Linked DNA regions of Homo sapiens: all the other regions are linked to region 2. Evidence: promoter capture Hi-C in 16 types of primary human blood cells and fetal thymus (Javierre and others, 2016). All regions are on one chromosome and are shown on one strand. Each heading gives the region's core, a stretch centred on a gene start or on the middle of the fragment in contact. The rest is flanking DNA. Distances are from core to core; before and after follow the strand shown.

What was found. Contacts are between HindIII fragments. The CHiCAGO score rates a contact against its expected background, and 5 or more counts as called.
Region 1: a contact is called between the fragment with the promoter of ZDHHC3 here and the fragment with the promoter of CCDC174 in region 2, in 1 of 17 cell types (total B cells). The highest score is 6.7, in total B cells.
Region 3: a fragment that was not itself captured here is called in contact with the fragment with the promoter of CCDC174 in region 2 in 1 of 17 cell types (total B cells); the score reaches 7.0 in total B cells.

What each region holds. Positions count from the first base shown.
Region 1 is chr3:44,973,564-44,977,827 of GRCh38, forward strand. It overlaps ZDHHC3 (zDHHC palmitoyltransferase 3), which reads right to left and starts at 2,611. Exons shown (of 7, transcript NM_001135179.2): 1 at 2,370-2,611. It overlaps EXOSC7 (exosome component 7), which reads left to right and starts at 2,681. Exons shown (of 8, transcript NM_015004.4): 1 at 2,681-2,771. The coding sequence starts at 2,715. RefSeq lists an enhancer at 1,591-2,135 and silencers at 2,358-2,457, 2,578-2,647. The HindIII fragment of the contact is 4,817 bases long and covers 1-3,008 here.
Region 2 is chr3:14,649,992-14,654,854 of GRCh38, forward strand. CCDC174 (coiled-coil domain containing 174) reads left to right here and starts at 1,771. Exons shown (of 11, transcript NM_016474.5): 1 at 1,771-1,887; 2 at 4,435-4,539. The coding sequence starts at 1,846. It overlaps LOC124909347 (a long non-coding RNA gene), which reads right to left and starts at 2,130. Exons shown (of 2, transcript XR_007095826.1): 1 at 1,678-2,130; 2 at 1-1,235. RefSeq lists enhancers at 1,312-1,970, 1,474-1,873, 2,014-2,083. The HindIII fragment of the contact is 1,793 bases long and covers 1,543-3,335 here.
Region 3 is chr3:53,341,974-53,346,297 of GRCh38, forward strand. It overlaps DCP1A (decapping mRNA 1A), which reads right to left. Exons shown (of 10, transcript NM_018403.7): 2 at 2,929-2,969; 3 at 171-298. Among named protein-coding and RNA genes, the nearest start is that of DCP1A, 3.4 kb to the right of the region's middle. The HindIII fragment of the contact is 785 bases long and covers 1,292-2,076 here.

The sequences.
Region 1 (4,264 bases), core at 1,361-3,860, about 30 Mb after region 2:
TTCTCCTGCCTCAGCCTCCCGAGTAGCTGGGATTGCAGGCATGCGCCACCATGCCCGGCTGATTTTGTATTTTTAGTAAAGATGGGGTTTCTCCATGTTGGTCAGGCTGGTCTCAAACTCCCAACCTCAGGTGATCCACCGGCCTCGGCCTCCCAAAGTGCTGGGATTACAGATGTCAGCCACCGCACCTAGCCTGGTTAATCTTTATAAAGTGCTTAGAACAATGCTTGGCATACAATAAGCACTATGTAAATTAGTGTTGAAAATTAGAGTATAAGGTTTTAGAATACACAAACCTACAGAATAGTATGCCCCAATTCATTTATTCATTCAATAAATGAATCTAATAGTGATGGAAAAACAAGACGGTTTAATACTGTGCCATCCTTGACTTCTTGATTTTTTTGGTTATCATATGTTCTTTGAATTACTTCAATACACTAAAAAAGAACTCAGAATTTATGGATTTTAAAGACGTCCAATGCACTATTACAGCAAAGGTGATAAAAATGTTCTGGCAGCATTTAAGCCGAATGATTAGTGAAGACTGTCATTGTTTTAGTAGACAATTTAAAAAGGAACATTCTACTGTTTACATCTCTCTTACCTACTTAGCCTAATATATAAGACATCGTTCATAACATTATTTAGCAAATACTGCAGACCCTTGTCCAGTATGGAATTCCCGTCAATTGTGAGGGGGGGACAGTTCAAATACATGTTCTATATTTTAAGACATTGGAAAATCTTTATATAAAGATAACTCCATGGTATCTGAACTCAGGCTTTTCTTCCTGTGTCTTTCTGATCTGTCCATTTGCTGTCACCTCTTAAATCCTCAGTCTCCTCAGATATCCTAGCTTCTAAAATCCCACTTCCAGGGTCTCTCCTTTCTGAGCAATCTCTAGCACATCTAGAAAATATCATTTATAACATCAGCAATCTCATGTTATCTTATCACAACAGAGCTCCTCACATAAAACCCAGCCGTCCAACCACACACAAACACATCTAAGTGCCACAACAGGTGGGGCACCTGTGCCTTCATTAGGGAGGAAATCCTTCCGGCTTCACCTCTTTCAGTTTCCCTGGAAGGCAAAGTCCAACCCTGCAAGCTGTCTTCCTTTTAGGTGCCCCTGTGGAGAATTACGTAGAGACATAAGAAACATCTAATGTCCAGTCTACGAAGAACTGATCATCAATTTTGGAGCTCAGCAGTTTAATGCTTAAGAATGTGAGCAAGCACTTCCTCTCTATAACCTTATCAGACGACCTCCCAATCCCACTGTGCCCACTGATGCGACCATCATAGCTCTAACCACCATGATCTGTGGTTATGTTGGCCCTGGAGCCTTCATCTGCCCAGGGAACTTCTCTGGGCATAGTATGTTTTACTTGTCTTGTGTTCTAAAGGTAGCACAAAGCCTATCTATAGTAGGCTCCCAATAGTTATCTGAAACTGTATTTGAACCCACTATCTGATAAATACCATTTTTTTTTTTTTTTGGCTGAGGGTCCTCAAAAATGGAACATCAGGAAAGTCATCAGAATTGCTTTAACCTGCCCTCCTTGCTTCAACTAATTTGGGTTAACTTTCTCCCATTTATCCACACGGCTCCTTTAAAACTTGCACCATACTTTGTCAGCCCCGCCTTAATGAGTTCCTTTGGTGACCCCAGCTTCACCTTGCAGATATCCTCTCCGGGTATCCAATGCCCATACTCCCACTCGGCCATCGCAAGGGGTTGGGGTTGGCTTTTTTTCGGGCAACTGCTCACAGCTCCCAGTAATCACTTCCATCAAGCCGGGGTTTCCAGTTCCCGCTAGGAAGCGTTGGGGACGTCCGGGCACTGCGCACCTCGCCAGTGCCGGTTACCAAGCGCCTCCTCCCCCGTCTGTGGGACAACGCTCTGGTAAGCACCCGAGGCAAGAGGTCCCAGCAAGGTAATGGGACAGCGTTCGGTCACAGAGAGTGAGCGAGCCAGCGAGAGATATTCCTGGGTGGAGGGGTGGGGACGCCTTAGGACTAGTGTCCCCCATTCCCGGACCCTTCCCACCAAGAACTACCTAGGGAGGGCTGCATCGCCTCTCCAGCCATCCTAGGGACTAGAGAAATGGAGGGGAGAAGAGCAGGGAAACAGCACCCCCGGGCCAATCACGACGTCCGCCCCTCCTTAGTCGGGGTCTCTCTCTCTCTCTCTCTCTCTCTCACACACACACACACACACACACACACACACACGCTCCTAAGTCAACTCCAGCTCTGAGCAACTACGCCGCACGCCTCTCCCACTGGGAGTCCCCCGGCCCGTGAGGCTCGCCTCACCCCAGCTTCTTCACCCCTACCCCAGTTTCCCTTCCCAACTGACCGTGAAGCCGGAGGCAGTTCCCCAGTCCCAGACCCCGGTGGGGCTCCCGCCGCCGCCGCCGCTGCCTTCCCCTGCAGTCCCCAACCCGGGACCCGGCCTCGGGCTTCGGCGATGGCTCCTCGGAACGAGGCGCCGCGGCTCTCTGGACTCGGCCAGACACCGGGCGGCGCGCAGGAGAAGCCCATCGAGCTCTCCCGGCAGTGGCGGCGGCCGCGGCTGCAGGAGCGGCCGCCGCGCAGGTTGATGACGCGCTGACGCGGGGCGGGGGGGGGTGGGACGTGGGGGCGCGGTCCAGAGGAGGGGACGCGCGCAGATGACGTGCGGCTCGTGGGGCAGCTCGGCAGCATGGCGTCCGTGACGCTGAGCGAGGCGGAGAAGGTGTACATCGTGCATGGCGTCCAGGTAGCTACAGCAGCGGCGTTGGGTCGGCCGCCGGGTTCAGCCTGGCCCTGCGGGTCGCGGCCTGCCCTGGGTTTGCCAGTGAGGAGGCAGCCGAGCTGCGGCGACTCTCCGTTTACCTTGTGATTAAACGGTTCTGCTGCCGGCGTTTGCAATTCAGAGCTGGCAACGTGGACGTTTTTAGGACTGTTAGCGCATTTGCAGTTTTGCGGGTCTATAAGATTCCGAACCCGGGCAGGAAGCTTGGGCAGTCTCGGAGGCCTTTTCTTAGTGAGAGAGCATCGGCCCCAGGGCCATCCATTCGGCGTTCGCGCACAGATCTTGTCCGAGCCTCAGTTTTCTCTTCGAGGAAATGGGAGTTTGGAGGTGGGCTTCTGGCCTGCTTTTCCTCACCTCGTGGTTAGGAGGGCGCATGCGAGGTGAACGCACTTTGAAAATACAAATTGCCGTACAAATAAAGGGGGAAGGGTTTTTAAAAAGCGGCTAGGACGCCTGTAATCCCAGCACTTTGGGAGGCCGAGGCGGGCGGATCACGAGGTCAAGAGACCGTCCTGACCAACATGGTGAAACCCCGTCTCTGCTAAAAATACAAAAAAATTTAGCTGGGCGTGGTGGCGCACGCCTGTAGTCCCAGCTACTCGGGAGACTGAGGCAGGAGAATCGCTTGAACCCGGGAGGCGGAGGTTGCAGTGAGCCGAGTCTCAAAAAAAAAGCGGCTAGGCAGCCGATAGCCTAAGTGCTGTTTCCATTTTGCCAATGAAGAACTAAGATCCCTAGGCAGCTATAACCTAATGTCCTCTGTGTTCTATATTAAATCCCTGGTTATGACCACTCCAGAACGAGGGTTGAAAAATGTTGGACCTGGTAACGAGCTACCCTGTATCCTCCTCCGGCTGTGTCTCCACTTGTTAACCTACGGTGTGGTCCTCCTATCAGAGTTCTTCATCCCATCCTTGGCAGAGTTCTGGCGACAGCTCCTACCTCTTTTCCTCATGCCTTTCCTCTGTCAGTACCAACTGCAAAGTCAGTGGTCCCGTGATGTAGCCATCGGATTGAAGCGGCCAGCTATCATTGAAGTCCCACAACGTGAGTTAAGGACATGTCCATTTAAAAATCGTGACCTGCCGTTATCTTCTGGGCCCTTTATATATGAAGAAATGCCAATATTTAGCATATTATGCCTGGATAATAAAGTCAGAACTCACAGTTGCATATTTTAGTTATAATTCAGGATTAACAACAGTGGGACATATGTGTGTATTACAGGGTAACATGTATGTTATTTGTGTGTGAGGGGGCATAAAAATGCCCAAAAGCAGTTAGATATGTCTTTCCCTGCTATATTTTTGTATACACTTTGTTCAGGTGATTTTTATCCTCAAAGTATTTTTTTAGGGACACATTACGGATAACCGTTTTCCTCTAAATTTAAAAACCTTTGGTCTTCTTTGTTACCGGAGCTTACCATGATGTAGTGACTCTGTCATGTGTCCTAT
Region 2 (4,863 bases), core at 521-3,020:
TCTAATTTCAGAGACTGGCGGACTTGGAGAAATAAACAAATGAAAATAAATAAATAAGACTGAACACAGTCAACTGCCTCAATTCCCCTCTCCTTTTCCCTTTTCCCATTTTCTCCATAAAGACAGATGAGATGAGGATGTGATGAGTCTCATTTTTCTTCTCTCTAATATGGTGGATAATAGGTCCGCTTCTAGGATTCTTGCAAGGATTATATAATATAATCTATGCAAAGAGTCATACACATGCCCCACATATACTAAATGCCACTGTTACAATCATTATGATCACTTTCGTCTTGCTGCTGTAACAAATTGCCACAAGTTTGGTGGCTTAAAACAACACAAACGTATTCTGGTAGAGTTCTGGAAGTCAGAAGTTTGAGATGAGTGTTACAAGACTAAAATCACCGTGTCAGCAATGCTGCATTCCTTCTGGAGACTCTGGAGGAGGGCTCATTTCTTTGCTTTTTCTAGCGGCCTCCTGCATACCTAGGCATGTGGTCCCACTCTCCCTCTTCAAAGCATCTCTGATCTCTGTCTGACTCTGGCCATCCTGTCTACCCCTTATAAGGATGGTTTTGATGATAGGGGACCCACCTGCACAATCCAGGCTAGCTCCCCATCTCAATCGCTTTAATTTCATCATCTCTGCCAATTCTCTTTTGCTATATAAAGGTCACCATATACCCAGATTCTGGGGATTAGAAGGTAGACATCTGGGAGTCGGGGTGAGGGTGATTGGTCTGTCTACCATAATCATTAACATTTTTATCAAGACTAGCTCATTTAACTCATCTAATCCTCACTAAGACCCATTAGGTAAATAAAATTATATCCCCCTTTGGAAACTGAGGCACACGGAAGTTAAGTAACTTGCCCAAGGTCACACAAGCAGTAAGCCGTGAAGAGCGATTCCAACCCAGAAAGTCAGCTTTCGAGTTCACGTGTTCTTTGTTTTTTTTTTTTTTGATCTCGACTCACTGCAACCTCCACCTCCCAGGTTCAAGCGATTCTTCTGCCTCAGCCTCCTGAGTAGCTGGGAATACAGGCGCGCACCACCACGCTCGGCTAATTTTTTTTTTTTCTTGTATTTTCAGCAGAGACGGGGTTTCACCATGTTGGTCAGGCTGGTCTCAAACTCCTGACCTCCTGATCCACCCGCCTCAGCCTCCCAAAGTGCTGGGATTACAGGCGTGAGCCACCGCGCCCGGCCCAGGAGTTCACGTTCTTAAGAGCTGAAATATGTAAAGTGGCCCATAATAAGCACTACATTAATGTTAGCTATTATTCTTGTTATTTCTACTAAGATTAATATAATAATCCTTATCTCGTACGCTCTTTTAAGAACCAACTATTTAACGTGTGAAAAGTGCCAGGCAGCAGGTCCTGGAATTGCAGTTAAGATTCTTCCGGTCCTCCCAATCCACCTTTCCCGAGACGCTCGAGTTCACTTACTTAAGCGTCAGCCTTCCCCAAGATGGCGTTATCTTTGTCGCCAACCCCACATCCGCCCCACCCAATATGGCGTCCATCGCAATCAAAAGCTTTATTCCGCCCTTCTCAAGATGGCGCCCACACCAATCCTTGTTACCTTCCGCCCTCAAGATGACCTTAGCAGTTAGCGTCAACCTCCGCACTCTATGACCTTTCCAAAATGATGGTGAACGTAATACGCACCACACTCTGACCTTCTCAAGATGGCGCTGAGCTGACAAACTCGCGTCGCAAACTCACGCAAACTCAGTGTCGCTGTCGAAGACACTTCCGGTTGCGACGGAGGTAGGCTTACGAGGCCTGTGTCGGGTAGAAAGGGTCCTTCCTGGACCGGGACCCTCTGCCACGACCATGGACCGTAGGAAAAAGCCTTTGGACGTCACGGCCTCCTCGGTGAGTGAGGGTATGAGGTAACTCCACGGGCTCCGGGTTCACCGTGTCTCCATCAGACAAGAATGTCGACCTAGCTTGTTTCTTCACTCGGGGACCCAGAGACCTGACCTCTCCCCTCAAACAGGAACCCCCGAACTGGATTTTCTTCTCCGGCGGGGATCCGGTTCAGTTTTCTTACAGGACCCTGAATTGGGCTACTCTCCTCTGACATGCGCCCGGGCCAGAACCCTCGGACACGGATCTGAACCTGGTGTCCCGTGGGTTAGGAAACTCCGTGCCTCACCTCTGCCCTGCCCACAAGGACCTGCACCTCGTCAGCCTTCTCCCTTACAGTCAGGAGGAACCCTAGCTTCTTTTTGCTATGCAGACATATCCTCTTCCTGGTTTCTCCTCCATCCAGGGACCCACAAAGTCCTCCCAGAACTTTAGAGTGTGACATATTTCGCAGGACCCGAAAGTGTCCAGCGTGCCCTCCCTGGAACTAAACAGTTGTTAATGCAGGCATAGGGAGTTGTGAGGTCTGAAAGGATGTAAGCAGATTTATTACATCAGCTACTCTAGAAAGAAAACTTGTTCTAAGTACACATTTTGTGCCAGCACTTTATATGCACTATCTCATTGAATCCTCCCAATGGCTTTAGGAGGTAGGTGCTATTAATATCTCCGTTTTATGGATGATGAAATTGAGGCCTGGAAAGATGAAGTAGCTTTCCCCAGCTTACAGACAGAAATCTTAGTGATAGCCGGGCGCGGTGACTCACGCCTGTAATCCCAACACTTTGGGAGGCTGAGGCGGGCAGATCACCTGAGGTCGGGAGTTTGAGACCAGTCTGACCAACATGGAGAAACCCCGTCTCTACTAAAAATAAAAAAATTAGCCGGGCGTGGTGGTGCACGCCTGTAATCCCAGCTACTCGGGAAGCTGAGGCAGGAGAATCGCTTGAACCGGGGAGGCGGAGGTTGCGGTGAGCCGAGATCGCGCAATTGCACTCCAACCTGGGCAACAAGAGCGAAACTCCGTCTAAGGGGCGGGGGGCGGGGGGAAGAAATCTTAGTGATAGACCCTTTCTCACTCACTCTACTTGACTCCAAAGCTGCTGCCTTTTCATCATCAGAGCAAATTGCCCAACCTTTGATTTAATCTTGAATTTACTTCAGAGTATTAGGACACAAAGTGAGTAGGAAGGAAAACATATAGGTGTCCCAATATTTGAGTACTAGTTATTATTGGTAACTATTATTGGTTAAAATTGGTACCAGTTATTATTTTGTTTGAAGATCAGGAACCAGAAAGCTATAAATATTAAAGCCAACCTATACTGACAGGTTAGCAGTAATTGTAATAAGAATGCTATTTGAGAATTTACATTTTTTTGAGCATCTCTTAAAGTTAAAGGCAGTTGTAGACTAGGAAGATATGTGGCTGGAAAATTTGGTGTGGTTAAGTAAGCTTAGAAGAAAAAGTAGAAGTTTTTCATTTGTTTTTAAAAATTTCCAGTATTAGGGTCTGCAGTGAAACTGCCCTTTGCATTATTAAATGGTTACCTTTTAAATCGATTTCTTCCAAAACGGAAATTGAACCCAGCCATTTTTATCTTCCTTAACAAATAAAGTGATTTTTTTAAGTATCTGATGATTAAGACAGTGATGAAGTATCTGATTTACAAATGCCCATCCATATAAGCAGCTGTACCTGGACCATTAAAAAGGAAACTGTTGTTATATCCTTTTTTGCAGAGTAGGCAGGGGTAATTAATGTAGCTGAGGGAAAGGTACTAATATTCACCCAACTGCCCCACTCCCTATGCCTTGGCCTTCTTTCCTGTTCTTGAACCGTGTGATTCAGCCAAGCTTACGGTTTTTGAAATGGATTAAGTCAAACGTGGAGCTGTTATAATTCACCCAGTCTATTTTATTTCTAGCTGTTGAAATAATGTGTCTTTAAAGGCTCTGCTCTAAGCTTTCTCTGATCACTCTGCTCAGAAGGAAATGCTCTGTTATCTGAACTTATGTGCTACTTTCTTCCACTCTAGAGTCATTTGTTTTATTTTGTTGGTAGTATAAATTACTTTCCTTGTTACATTGTAGGCTCTTTGAGGCAGAGAGTATGTCTAATTCATGTTTATGTTCTGCTCTTCAGCGTTATTTCTACAGCATTTCACTGTAGAAATAAGTTGTGATGATGAAATGAGTGCAGTGCTAGTCAGAGAGAAGGTGCTTAATAATGCAAGTTTAATCTGAAACTAAAAGATGCAGACTTTATTAATTTATTTTGCTTTATCACTTTCTCCTTGCCTAAGGAAAGCCTCGAGTGTTGAAAGTCAGAGTAAAAATGCATTTGCAGCAGAGGTAGAATGAAACATGACTTAGCTTAATTTGTGTACTGGATTCTACATTTAAACATTTAGTTACTTAAACATTTAGTTTTTTAGCCATATTTGTCCATTTAGCGGAACTTGAAATATTCCTTTGGAAATTATAATAATTTAGCAATCCAGTCACCTGCAGGAATTTAATATTTTTGTTTACTTACTGCTTTCATTCTAGTTGGTAGATCTTAAGGCTGAACTCTTCCGAAAGCAAGAAGAATTCAAACAAGAAAAACTTCTAAAAGATTCTGGAGTTTTTGGAAAACCAAAAACAACTAACAAGGTAAAAAATAAGATCTAATTATCTCCATTGGTTCCAAACATGGGAGAATTATACCATATTTAAGTGTTTTAAAATTGTCAGTGGTATCTGTACACATAAATGTTAAGGAAAAATCTCTATCTTGTATTTAACATCTGCATGAAATGTTATTAAAATAGAAATTAGTAAGATTATATAAAAGTACATAGTAATGTGCTAATTCTTTAGCACTTCTTTTGGAAAAATGTGGATTGTTTACATTTCATAAACAGATGGAAGGTTATCTGGTTCTATAAGTGTTAGGTATCCAAATAGAGATAAACAATTAGATAATATAGGAATATA
Region 3 (4,324 bases), core at 434-2,933, about 39 Mb after region 2:
GCCTCAGAGCCCAGTTTAAAAGGTTTGATCTTTCCAACAGACTCATTTATAATCATTAAGTAGAGACCATATTTTGTTTTGTAATTTGAAACTTCCTAAATAATGGATTGATAGAAACTAAAGTCACTCAATTTTAAATGTAATAACTATAATAAAACAGATATACTCACAGCTTGCATTTCTATACAGAAGAAATGGTTCATGGAGCTGAAATTCCAAATCTTTATTCACTGGTTCAACTAGATTGTGCATATTTAGTCGATTCACAATGGTAAAACCATGGTAAGGGGAAGCTGACCTTAGATTTAATAGAAGAAAAAAAAATATGTAGTTACCATTTAATCTGTAGAAATGTTATCTACTATGTACTTTATTTTCATTTCAAAAAAGAATGCATTAGAACATTATACAATATTATCAGCACTTACATCTGTAAACAAAAAATTTAAGTCAGATCATACTCCTCCTCTGACGAGAAGTCTCCAAAGACAGTCTCTCAGAGTAAAGGCCAAAGTCCTTACTGAGGCCACCAAGGCCCCACCTGATATACTCCCCACTCTGACTTCATTTCCTATGGCTCTTCTCCAGCTCCTACTCTCCAGCCACACCGGGCTCCTTGCCACTCTCTCTGCGTGTGTGCTTCTACCTAAAAACCTCTTCCTGGATTACTGCCCCAGAAGCTGCACAGCTATCTCATCTCCTCCAAGCCTTTGTTCAGATGTCACCTTTTTCATGAGGCCTACTTGAACTATCCTTTTTAATGCTCCCAAGCTCAATATCTCTAACCTTCCTCTTTTATCCATACCACTTATTTTTAGTATTTATTGTCCTCCCCCCACTAGGATGTAAGCCCCATGCAAATGGAGCTTTTGTCTTACTTTTTTCATACATATATCCCAAGATAGACACACAGTTGCTGAATGAAATATCATTCAATTGGATTGGCTATAATGGCTGCCCATCATTACAATAATGTTTTTCTTGCAACAAATAGATATTTACATAGCGCTCCTGAGTTAGACGGAAAATGCCTTGAATCCTACAATAGGAAACATCCTTGGTTCCCATATCAGAGGGATTCGGTACATGATCCTTTACTCTTCACATGTACCTAACACTTCACCGTTTTTCATTTGTTTCTCTACGATATACCCGGGGTGTTAACAGAACACTATTCTATAGATTAGGAGACAAGCTTTGAATGATAAGGCCTGTGCCTGAGGTCACACAAATAATGAGTTACAAATAATATAACTAGGATTCAGTTTCAGGTTTTTTGACTCCAAATCCAAGCTTCTACTATATGAAGTAATAGCTGCAAAGTGACAGTCTGACATCCTGGTATACCTTTATCCAAGGTACGCAAAATAGTCTCACATTTTCCAAACACAGTTTCTTGCGTCTCCTTTAATTAGAATCAGTACCATATAAGCCTCCGTGAATTGTATTAAATCCAGCCACCCACTACACTAAATCTCCTACTTTCTACAATCAGTGCCTCTGTATGATAACAATAAAGCCAGTAAAGTACTTTTACCAAATATCATAGAAACTAAGGTTCTAATAACAGAGTTTCTAGAGATTTATATTGCTAATGAAGAGTAATGAAGGGAGTGAGGGTAAAGATCCTTTCCTATTAATTTATTTATTTTTTATGAGAGGGAGTCTCGCTCTGTCACCCAGGCTGGAGTGCAGTGGCACGACCTCGGCTCACTGCAAGCTCCGCCTCCTGGGTTCACGATATTCTCCTGCCTCAGCCTCTCAAGTAGCTGGGACTACAGGTGCCTGCCACCATGCCCAGCTAATTTTTTGTATTTTTAGTAGAGACAGGGTTTCACCGTGTTAGCCAGGATGGTCTTGATCTCCTGACCTCGTGATCCGCCCACCTCGGCCTCCCAAAGTGCTGGGATTACAGGCGTGAGCCACTGCACCCGGCCGATCCCTTCCTTTTTAAAAGCAGAAAGATGAATAGCAGGGAACAAAGAAAGTGTCTAAGAAAAAAGAGCTTGGTGTACAAATATCAAAGAATTACACTTAAAAGAAGAAAAAAATGAGTGCATTTAGACGAGATCTCAAAGCTTTGTATCAAAATTTAGAAGAGTATTTGACAAATTCTTTTAAATTGGCATCAATGGAGAAAGGCAATCCTTATGAAGCAACTCAATACAAAAAAAAAAGGGAAAAGACCAGATATCAGTAATAACTCCTGCTGACTCCCTAAGCTTTAGAAAACAAGGGAAGGAACCTGCCCTTGTAAGAGTTAAGACCTTAGAGGAATCCAGGAAAACAAGTACCCCATGACTATCATATACTGTCAGTTGTCTTTAGGCCCCAAAAGCTGCCTAACAAAAAAGTTGCAATTTGCAAACCAATCTTAAAGATAATGAATTTTTGAATAAGTCAAAAATAAAAAATACGCCATCATGAATAATCCAAGCTTTCTAAAGAACTCTCAAATAAGACACTGTACATAATCCAGAACTTCTGTGGGTTGGGAAAGAGGACAGAACCAGTCATAAAAGACAACCACTCATGTAGTAATGAAAGAACAGAGGGATCGACCTCTCAATAACATTATTTTACAGAGCCAGTCTATGTATTGTCTTTTCCCCAAATATATATCTTTCTTTTTCTTTCTAATATGGGGGTAGGAAGAGAGACGCAGGCATCCATTTTAGACTCAATCATTATTATTTTGAAATTGCTTTGCTAGGCTGGTAATATAAATTCTAGTTCAGTTTATTCTGAATCACAGAAAGGCTCAGAGAAAAGAAAGAACCTGGTTAAGATTTCACAGCTAGGGAAAGATGAAAACTTGAAGGGTACTAGCAGGACGGTTCCAAAGACAAATGTACAAGAGAATTGAACCGTTTCACATTGTTCACCACTAGACTGTTAAAAACAAATATACATATTTTAAAAACTTACCTTCGATATACGAATAAGGTCCCTTCTATATCAGTCTTCTCCTATGAAAGACAATGACTCAATTAGTTTTTTTTCCCCATAATCAGACCCCAAATAGTCCCCATGGAGAAGTAATGCTTCACGTTTAAGATCAACTTGTTTCATTTCATCTATTATAAAATTAACCACTTTTGAACAGGTAAAGTCTCCCTCTCATTCCACAAATTGTGGTTACCATTTCTAATGTATCCTTTCAGTGCATAAGCATATGCAATATTTAATCCAGCAACATATCTGTATCTGCAGTATTTTTCTTTTTTAATTAGTAAAGGAGAAAATCATAGAATAAACCTTCACTTTTTATAGCTAAAATATTTTAGCCAGATTTCTTAACTTTAAAGCTAAGGTCCTGTATACTGCAATTTCTTCTCTTTTAAGTTTATCCAAGTTAATTTTAAAAAAGGAAAGGAATGAAACTTTCTTATAGGATACTTTGTTTCATCACTAGGGAGTTTTCGTACATTTTGACAACTAGCAAATTTTGTGGTTAAGAATTACTACCAAACAAAATCAGCTTGTTATTTTTAGAACTTGAAGAATCTTGAATACTGAAAGTATACCCTGCCTCAGTGTAATTATTGGAGGCCTTTACCATAGTTCATTTTCTGTGACAAGAGTGTATTTAGGTTTTAAACACAGTTCAGTGTTTTTTAAAAAATAAATAAGCTTATTAGTCTGCAATTTACAGCCTACAATGGACCTAAATATTTTACTGTAATCAACGCATTATTAACATTTTAAATGTTAGTCATATATTGAATGTGTTGGGATTAAAAAATTTAGAAAATTGATCATCTCGATTTCTTCCAGAAGTACTACCCTAGCTTAAATATCATTATTTTCCTTCCTAAGGATTCAGAGGCTTTTTCTTACCTTTAAAATGTTAGGTTATTACTATAAGAAACTGGTAATCAACTGTCTTACAGTAAAAGAAAATTTGCCCACCAAAAAACATCATGCAAAGTTACAACTCACTGTAAAATAATAAAGAGGGAAAAGATTTTTGTCATGCTCTATGTGCCAGGATCCAAATAAACAGTAGCAGCTTATTTTTCAATTCAGGTTATTATAGCTTGTATTTCATATTTAAAACAGAACTCCACAATGTAAAATTTTAAAATATTGAAAGCCTTTGTGAAAAACTAGGAAAACTCTAGCCCCAAGTCTTCACCATTTGTCGGCAATCCATATTTCAAAATTTATATATAGGCCAAGAAAAGAAAAAAGATTCATAAAATTTCAAACTAAGGCAATGTCTAAAATAGCTACATTTAAAAAACAATCTACAATTTTATTCCTTGTGGCTTCCCATATCTCCTTCTCTTCCAGGAGGCAAAGATAAACAACGTGATTATAA